Regions from separate parts of the Homo sapiens genome. Here region 1 is linked to region 2. The links are contacts of gene promoters, found by promoter capture Hi-C in human tissues and cell types (Jung and others, 2019). All regions are on one chromosome and are shown on one strand. The core of a region is centred on a gene start or on the middle of the fragment in contact, and the rest is flanking DNA. Distances in the headings are between cores, read along the strand shown. Region 1 has its middle 150 kb from the start of PCDH10. Region 2 holds the start of PCDH10 (protocadherin 10).

Region 1 (3,745 bases), core at 1,175-3,674, 150 kb after region 2:
CAGCACACCTACATGGCACATGTATACATATGTAACAAACCTGCACGTTGTGCACATGTACTCTAAAACTTAAAGTATAATAATAAAAAAATATAATAATAAAATAGTTAACGTAAGGGATGTAGTCTGCAAGCAATTTATTATTGTAACTGGCAACAGATACCTGACATTTAAAAATTATTTTCTTTATAAATTCTTTCTAATCATGCAAAGAGGGAAATGAAGAGAGACATAACTTCATTTTGAGGAAAATGAGGTGACTGAAATGTACTTGACTTACTAAAGGTCACCAGTGCTGCGAGGGATCCCAGGCAAGAATGCTGATCTTGATGAATAGTGCAGGTCATAACTGTTCTCAGTTGAGAGAGAAGGTAAGAAAAATGTTGCCATTATGTCTTTTAGGTGAGGGCTATCTTATTTTGGCACAGGAACTTAACATGATGGTTAAGCACAGGCGTTGGAGTAAGCAGAAATTTGAGTTCTTATGTTTGTTACATGTTTGGTGATCTCAGCTATGATTTCGTGTTGGTTTTTCTTCACTCACATCTAAGAGAGTAGTACACATATTTAAATTGTGTATGCAAAATGCTTGGCAAAATACCAGTATATGTTAATTCTAAATAAACAACAAGTTATTTTTATTAATGATTTTATTTATATTTTTCAAAAATTCTATGATGATTCTGACCTTTAAACCAAGATATTTGATGACAAGTACCATACCTGTTTCATCCATATCCTTTAATAGCTGCTTAAAATATCTGGTGAATAAATAAATAAATGTATGGGTAGATAGAATTTATTTTAGAACATATCATAAGGGAGAAAGCTGGGTAACATTATATGTAAAATTTAAGCCAAATTTCCTGCCCAGAGCTGTTATCTCTAGTTTAGAACTCTAGAAATGTATCGTCTCTTTACTGGGATCTTTCTCTGTAACAAGAATTTATAAGGCTGAAATTCTACAGATAAGAGGATACCTTCCACAGGATGAAATTGACTCAATCATCTTTGGCCCTTTGTTGTACATAGCATAGGGTCTATATTAGCCTTGCTTTTAAAATTCAGTAATCTCCTGTAATCTATTACTTCAAAGATGTGTCATTGTTTGCATATTCAGCAGCACTCTTTCCAAGAAATAAAAAATGATTCATTTTGTGTTATATGAACAATATATTTGGAAGAAGAGAAATCAATACATGTAAATTCATTACATCCAGATGCTCCTCCTTCCAAACTAACCATTAAATGAAAGAGATTAATAAAATAAAATTGAAATAGCATATAATCTTTATGTGTATTTCAGCAGTGAAATTTGACGTAATTCACCAACTTTCTCATGGCGTTTTCTTTCTGCATTTTATAGCTTAGTCTGATGTTCATTTGGATAAATTTAGAAAGCTAACACCTCATTTTATGCAGCTGAAGTGTAAGATTAAGTAGAGTAGAAACCTTGCTAATTATCACTTCTCTGATCTACACACCTGATACTTCTTGCAAAGAGTTTTTAGCAAATATTAAAAAGAGGTCATGTATCAAAGCATTATTTTTATATCTCCACATTTAAGTAGAAATTTGAGAATACATATGTGCATTTAATGTTTTAACAAATACCTTTAGTGTATGTATAACATAATGTCACTGATTAAATATAACTTCAAGTAATAAATTGCTAGGAAATATTTTATATCATCTCTCTCTATTCTTTTTAGTCCTCTCCACCACAATACATTTCCTTATGTATTTCTGAAACTTTCCTTAGGGCTTTCTAGATGGCCATTAGCTAGGAAGATGTCCAGCTATAACCCCAAAGCAACTTGGCACAGAGAGTGCTTCCACGCAGCTCTGCTTTTGATTTTATCTTTGAAAATAGAATGTTTAAATAGAAAAAGATGAAGTAATAGATATTCATCTGACAATGGGAAAGTGATATAGATTTTTTTCCAGCTCTATTAAAGTATAATTGGAAAATAAAAGTCATATATATATACATACATATATATATAGAAGATGTACAATGTGGTGTTTTGATATACATATACAATGTTAAATAATTAGAACAATAGGGTAATTAACATACCCATCACCACACATAGTTAACTTTTTGTGTATACATGTGTGGTGACAATATATAAGATTTATTCTCTTAGCAAATTTCAAATACAATCTTCCCTCTGTATTGAACACTGGGATTGGTTCCAGGACCCTTGACAGATACCAAAATGCACAGATGTTCGATACCCTTATATAAAATGGTGTAGTATTTGCATATTACATACACACAGCCGCTTGTATACTTTAAACATCTCTAGAATACTTATAATACCTAATGAAATGTAAATGCTATGTAAATATTATAATTATTACATTGTATTTTTTATTTGTATTAATTTTTGTTGCATTGTTATTTTTATTCTTCTTTCAAATGTTTTGGATCCGCAGTTGGTTGAATCTGTAAATGTGGAACCTATGGATATGGAGGGGCAACTGTATACTTCACATTATTATTAACCCTAGCCATCAGATCTCCAGAATTTATTCAATTTATAACTGCAAGTTTGTATCTTTTGACCAACACTTCCTCATTTCCCTCTTACCCACCCTACCACATCCCACAGCCCCTGGTAAGTTATCCTTCTACTCTTTGCATCTATGAGTTAAACTATTTTAGGTTCCACATATGAGATCATGCAGTATTTGTCTTTCTGTGTCTCGTTTATTTCACTTAGTATAAATTGTCCCGATTCTTCTTTGTTGTTACAAATAACAGCATCTGCTTCTTTTTAAGGTTGAATAGCATTCCTTGATAGATCATATATATATGTGTGTGTGTGTATATATATACCATTATATAATATATACCATTATATATATTATATATGGCATATAATGATATATAATATATACCATTATGTAATATTCCATTATATATGTGACCCGTATTTCATCTCATATATATGCAATATTATATAATGGTATATATTATATGCCATTATATGTGACCTGTATTCCATCATATATATGATATGATTCATATGGATCATATATGATATGGATCATATATGATATTCATATGGAATCATATATATGATGGTATACAGGTCACAAATATAATGGAATATTATTCATCCACATATTCATATATATTTCTTTATTCATTCATCCATCAATGAACACTTAGTTTATTTTCATATCTTGGCTATTGTGTGTAATGTCATTATAACATGAGAGTGCAAATGTCTCTTCAAGATAGTGATTTTATTTTCTTCTAATATATACCCAGAAGTGAGGTTCCTTGCTCACATGGTATTACCGTTCTATTATTTATTTTTTAGAAAGTTCCATACTACTTTTCATAATGGCCGTATTAATATATATTCCCATAAACAATCTATAAAGATCACCTTTTCCCCATATCCTTTCCAACACGTGTTATCTTTTGGATTTTTTTATAATAGCTAGCTGTGGTGGTTAATATTGAGTTTCAACTTGATTGGATTGAAGAATGCAAAGTATTGTTCCTGGGTGTGTCTGTGAGAGTGTTGCCAAACGAGATTAACATTTGAGTCTGTGGACCAGGAGAGGCAGACCCACTTTCAATCTGGGTGGGCACCATCTTATCAGCTGCCAGTGCAGCTAGAATAAAGCAGGCTGAAGAAATCGGAAAGGGCAGACTAGCTGAGTCTTCTGACCTCTGTTTGTCTCCCTTGATGAATGCTTCCTGCCCTCGAACATCAGACTCCAA
Region 2 (4,065 bases), core at 147-2,646:
AATATATATTTATAGATCTTTCCTTAGAGAACTGGCATTCTATCCACTCTCCAGCATTAAAGAGTTCGCGCTGTGTTTTAACTTCACAAGAACTAGCTATGTGGATGTGCCGCGTTGCCCCTGCGCCTCCGGAAGGGGCACTCACAGCTGGTCAAGCGCGTCCTTCGGAACTCGGGGAGGCTCCGTTGGGGCTTACACAGAGCTAAGCCCTGGGCCAGGGAGGATGGATGCAAGTACCGTGCATGTGCAAACGTGTTCGCAGATACCCGCAGCGGTGCACACTCGGGCCCCTCGTGTGCACGGGCCCTGCCCACCACCCCGCCCGCGTTCGCCGCCGCCCCACTGTCCTCATCCCGCGGGCTGACCCCAGGATTGGCAGAAATCAGTGGTCTAATCTAGCATGGTGGGTAAAGGGATCGATCTCCAATTGCCAAAAAAAAAATAGAAAATAGCCGGTGTTCCCAGCCGCTGCGTGGCACTTGGCCGCACAAGGCGCAGGGATATCAGAGGCGCTTTGCAGCGCTTGGCGGTGCTGTGTGCCGGATGCCCCAGAGCCCGGCGTTAGGATGGCGGGCTTGTAGGAAGCGGCTCAAATCAACTCCTCAGTCACTGATGAACGCGCTCACGGCTCGAAGCTAGGTCCTCGAGTGAGTTAATCTACTTGGTAAGTATTTTGTGAATATGTATTTTGGGAGGAAAGAAGCACGTCGAACGCGTCTGCCCGTCTGTAAGCGCTGTCATCCCCACATCCTTTAGCGTGAATTCCTCCGCTTTTTAGGAGTCACCTCCACCCCCTACTCCGTATGCTTCGCGCCTTTCCTCACGGCCCCGTCAGACCCCCTCACCTTTAGATTGACACATGCCATATAATACTCACTTTTAAAATGCCCTGCCAGTCTCTGCTAGGGTCCCTTAATTAGGTAACCCTTGCCAATTAGTGGGCCCTGCGCTACTTTTTCCCTTCTCGATGATTTATTTCCATGATGCGTATTAGGGAAAATACCTTAAAGGAAAAAGAATGTTAGCATCATTGGAAATCCCGCTCCTAGGAGAGGATATCGCAGCTGTTGCTATTATGTTTTCGCATTTGCTGATGCAAACAGGGGAACCTCTCTATTCCCTCCCCATTACCTGCGGCTGGGGACTGGGAACTTTCCGCGGCATTGTCCCCAGCCAGCGCCTCGGGACCTGCGGGGCTGTTCTCGCTCTCACACTCACACTCACCCCGGCCGCTCGGGCGAGAGTTCTGTCCCGCCCCGCCCGGCTGCCGCGTGACGTGTCTGTTTGGCGGCCAGTTTGGCCAATCATCGGCAGCTCGGTGGGTGGTGCTCCTGGGCGATTGGTTGGCAGAATGAGGGCGCTGCGCAAAAACGGAGAAGCCGAGCGCTCGGAGCTCAGAAACTGCCAGCCCAGACCACAGGCTCAGAGGCTGAAGCAGGAGGAAGGAAGGACTGGAAGGAAAAAGAGACAGGTTAGAGGGAAAGAGGCTTGGGAAGAAAACAGCAGAAAAGAAACTGCTCATTACACTTACAGAGAGGCAAGTAACGGTGGAGATGAGGACAGAGGGAACCAAGACTCTGAAAGACAAAAAATACAAATAGAGCGAAAGAGGAAAAAAATGTCAAGAAGAACATCCATCCGGAGAAATGAAGAGAATGAAAGTTTTAAGCTGCAGAGCCGTTCTGTGCTTTTCCGGCACAAAATTATATCGCTGATTTTAAGCCCTTTTGCATTTGCCAGCCGTTGACATTAAGAGGCATGTTTAACGGTGCCAACAGCATCTCCTTTTCCTTCTCCTCTTCCTCTTCTTCTTCTTCCTCCTCCTCCTCCTCTTTTTCCTCCTCCTCGTTCTCCTCCCATCAGCAAGAAGACAAACCGAGGACAGTCTTGAAATATCGAAATTTCCTCTTTGGGATTTGCCAGCGCCAAGACTGTCGGAATAAAGGACGCTGACTATTGTATTATTGTTATTTTATTAATTAGTCAGTGGAAAGATTACAGATGAGGAAAGGGGACGCCTGTCACCCTTCCTGTGCTAAGATTTAAAAAAAAATGAGGCTGGATTGCGGGAAGCTCTAAAATGAAGCAAAAGGAGTAAGATTTTTAAAGACAGAAAGCCACAGGAGCCCCCACGTAGCGCACTTTTATTTGTATTTTTTCAGATTTTTTTTTGTTTCGTGGTGGTGGGGGAGGTGATTGGGTGGCTGACTGGCTGCGGGAAGCTACTTCCTTTCCTTTTGGAGATGATTGTGCTATTATTGTTTGCCTTGCTCTGGATGGTGGAAGGAGTCTTTTCCCAGCTTCACTACACGGTACAGGAGGAGCAGGAACATGGCACTTTCGTGGGGAATATCGCTGAAGATCTGGGTCTGGACATTACAAAACTTTCGGCTCGCGGGTTTCAGACGGTGCCCAACTCAAGGACCCCTTACTTAGACCTCAACCTGGAGACAGGGGTGCTGTACGTGAACGAGAAAATAGACCGCGAACAAATCTGCAAACAGAGCCCCTCCTGTGTCCTGCACCTGGAGGTCTTTCTGGAGAACCCCCTGGAGCTGTTCCAGGTGGAGATCGAGGTGCTGGACATTAATGACAACCCCCCCTCTTTCCCGGAGCCAGACCTGACGGTGGAAATCTCTGAGAGCGCCACGCCAGGCACTCGCTTCCCCTTGGAGAGCGCATTCGACCCAGACGTGGGCACCAACTCCTTGCGCGACTACGAGATCACCCCCAACAGCTACTTCTCCCTGGACGTGCAGACCCAGGGGGATGGCAACCGATTCGCTGAGCTGGTGCTGGAGAAGCCACTGGACCGAGAGCAGCAAGCGGTGCACCGCTACGTGCTGACCGCGGTGGACGGAGGAGGTGGGGGAGGAGTAGGAGAAGGAGGGGGAGGTGGCGGGGGAGCAGGCCTGCCCCCCCAGCAGCAGCGCACCGGCACGGCCCTACTCACCATCCGAGTGCTGGACTCCAATGACAATGTGCCCGCTTTCGACCAACCCGTCTACACTGTGTCCCTACCAGAGAACTCTCCCCCAGGCACTCTCGTGATCCAGCTCAACGCCACCGACCCGGACGAGGGCCAGAACGGTGAGGTCGTGTACTCCTTCAGCAGCCACATTTCGCCCCGGGCGCGGGAGCTTTTCGGACTCTCGCCGCGCACTGGCAGACTGGAGGTAAGCGGCGAGTTGGACTATGAAGAGAGCCCAGTGTACCAAGTGTACGTGCAAGCCAAGGACCTGGGCCCCAACGCCGTGCCTGCGCACTGCAAGGTGCTAGTGCGAGTACTGGATGCTAATGACAACGCGCCAGAGATCAGCTTCAGCACCGTGAAGGAAGCGGTGAGTGAGGGCGCGGCGCCCGGCACTGTGGTGGCCCTTTTCAGCGTGACTGACCGCGACTCAGAGGAGAATGGGCAGGTGCAGTGCGAGCTACTGGGAGACGTGCCTTTCCGCCTCAAGTCTTCCTTTAAGAATTACTACACCATCGTTACCGAAGCCCCCCTGGACCGAGAGGCGGGGGACTCCTACACCCTGACTGTAGTGGCTCGGGACCGGGGCGAGCCTGCGCTCTCCACCAGTAAGTCGATCCAGGTACAAGTGTCGGATGTGAACGACAACGCGCCGCGTTTCAGCCAGCCGGTCTACGACGTGTATGTGACTGAAAACAACGTGCCTGGCGCCTACATCTACGCGGTGAGCGCCACCGACCGGGATGAGGGCGCCAACGCCCAGCTTGCCTACTCTATCCTCGAGTGCCAGATCCAGGGCATGAGCGTCTTCACCTACGTTTCTATCAACTCTGAGAACGGCTACTTGTACGCCCTGCGCTCCTTCGACTATGAGCAGCTGAAGGACTTCAGTTTTCAGGTGGAAGCCCGGGACGCTGGCAGCCCCCAGGCGCTGGCTGGTAACGCCACTGTCAACATCCTCATAGTGGATCAAAATGACAACGCCCCTGCCATCGTGGCGCCTCTACCAGGGCGCAACGGGACTCCAGCGCGTGAGGTGCTGCCCCGCTCGGCGGAGCCGGGTTACCTGCTCACCCGCGTGGCCGCCGTGGACG

Evidence for each region. Contacts are between HindIII fragments. The study calls those that stand out against the background at their distance.
Region 1: a contact is called between a fragment that was not itself captured here and the fragment with the promoter of PCDH10 in region 2, in 1 of the 25 tissues and cell types used here (mesendoderm cells).

What each region holds. Positions count from the first base shown.
Region 1 is chr4:133,301,024-133,304,768 of GRCh38, forward strand. No RefSeq gene overlaps it. Among named protein-coding and RNA genes, the nearest start is that of PCDH10, 150 kb to the left of the region's middle. The HindIII fragment of the contact is 8,155 bases long and covers 1-3,745 here.
Region 2 is chr4:133,147,898-133,151,962 of GRCh38, forward strand. PCDH10 (protocadherin 10) reads left to right here and starts at 1,397. Exons shown (of 5, transcript NM_032961.3): 1 at 1,397-4,065. The coding sequence starts at 2,244. It overlaps PCDH10-DT (PCDH10 divergent transcript), which reads right to left and starts at 1,219. Exons shown (of 9, transcript NR_125885.1): 1 at 1,132-1,219. RefSeq lists an enhancer at 1,141-1,200 and a silencer at 1,311-1,450. The HindIII fragment of the contact is 10,822 bases long and covers 1-4,065 here.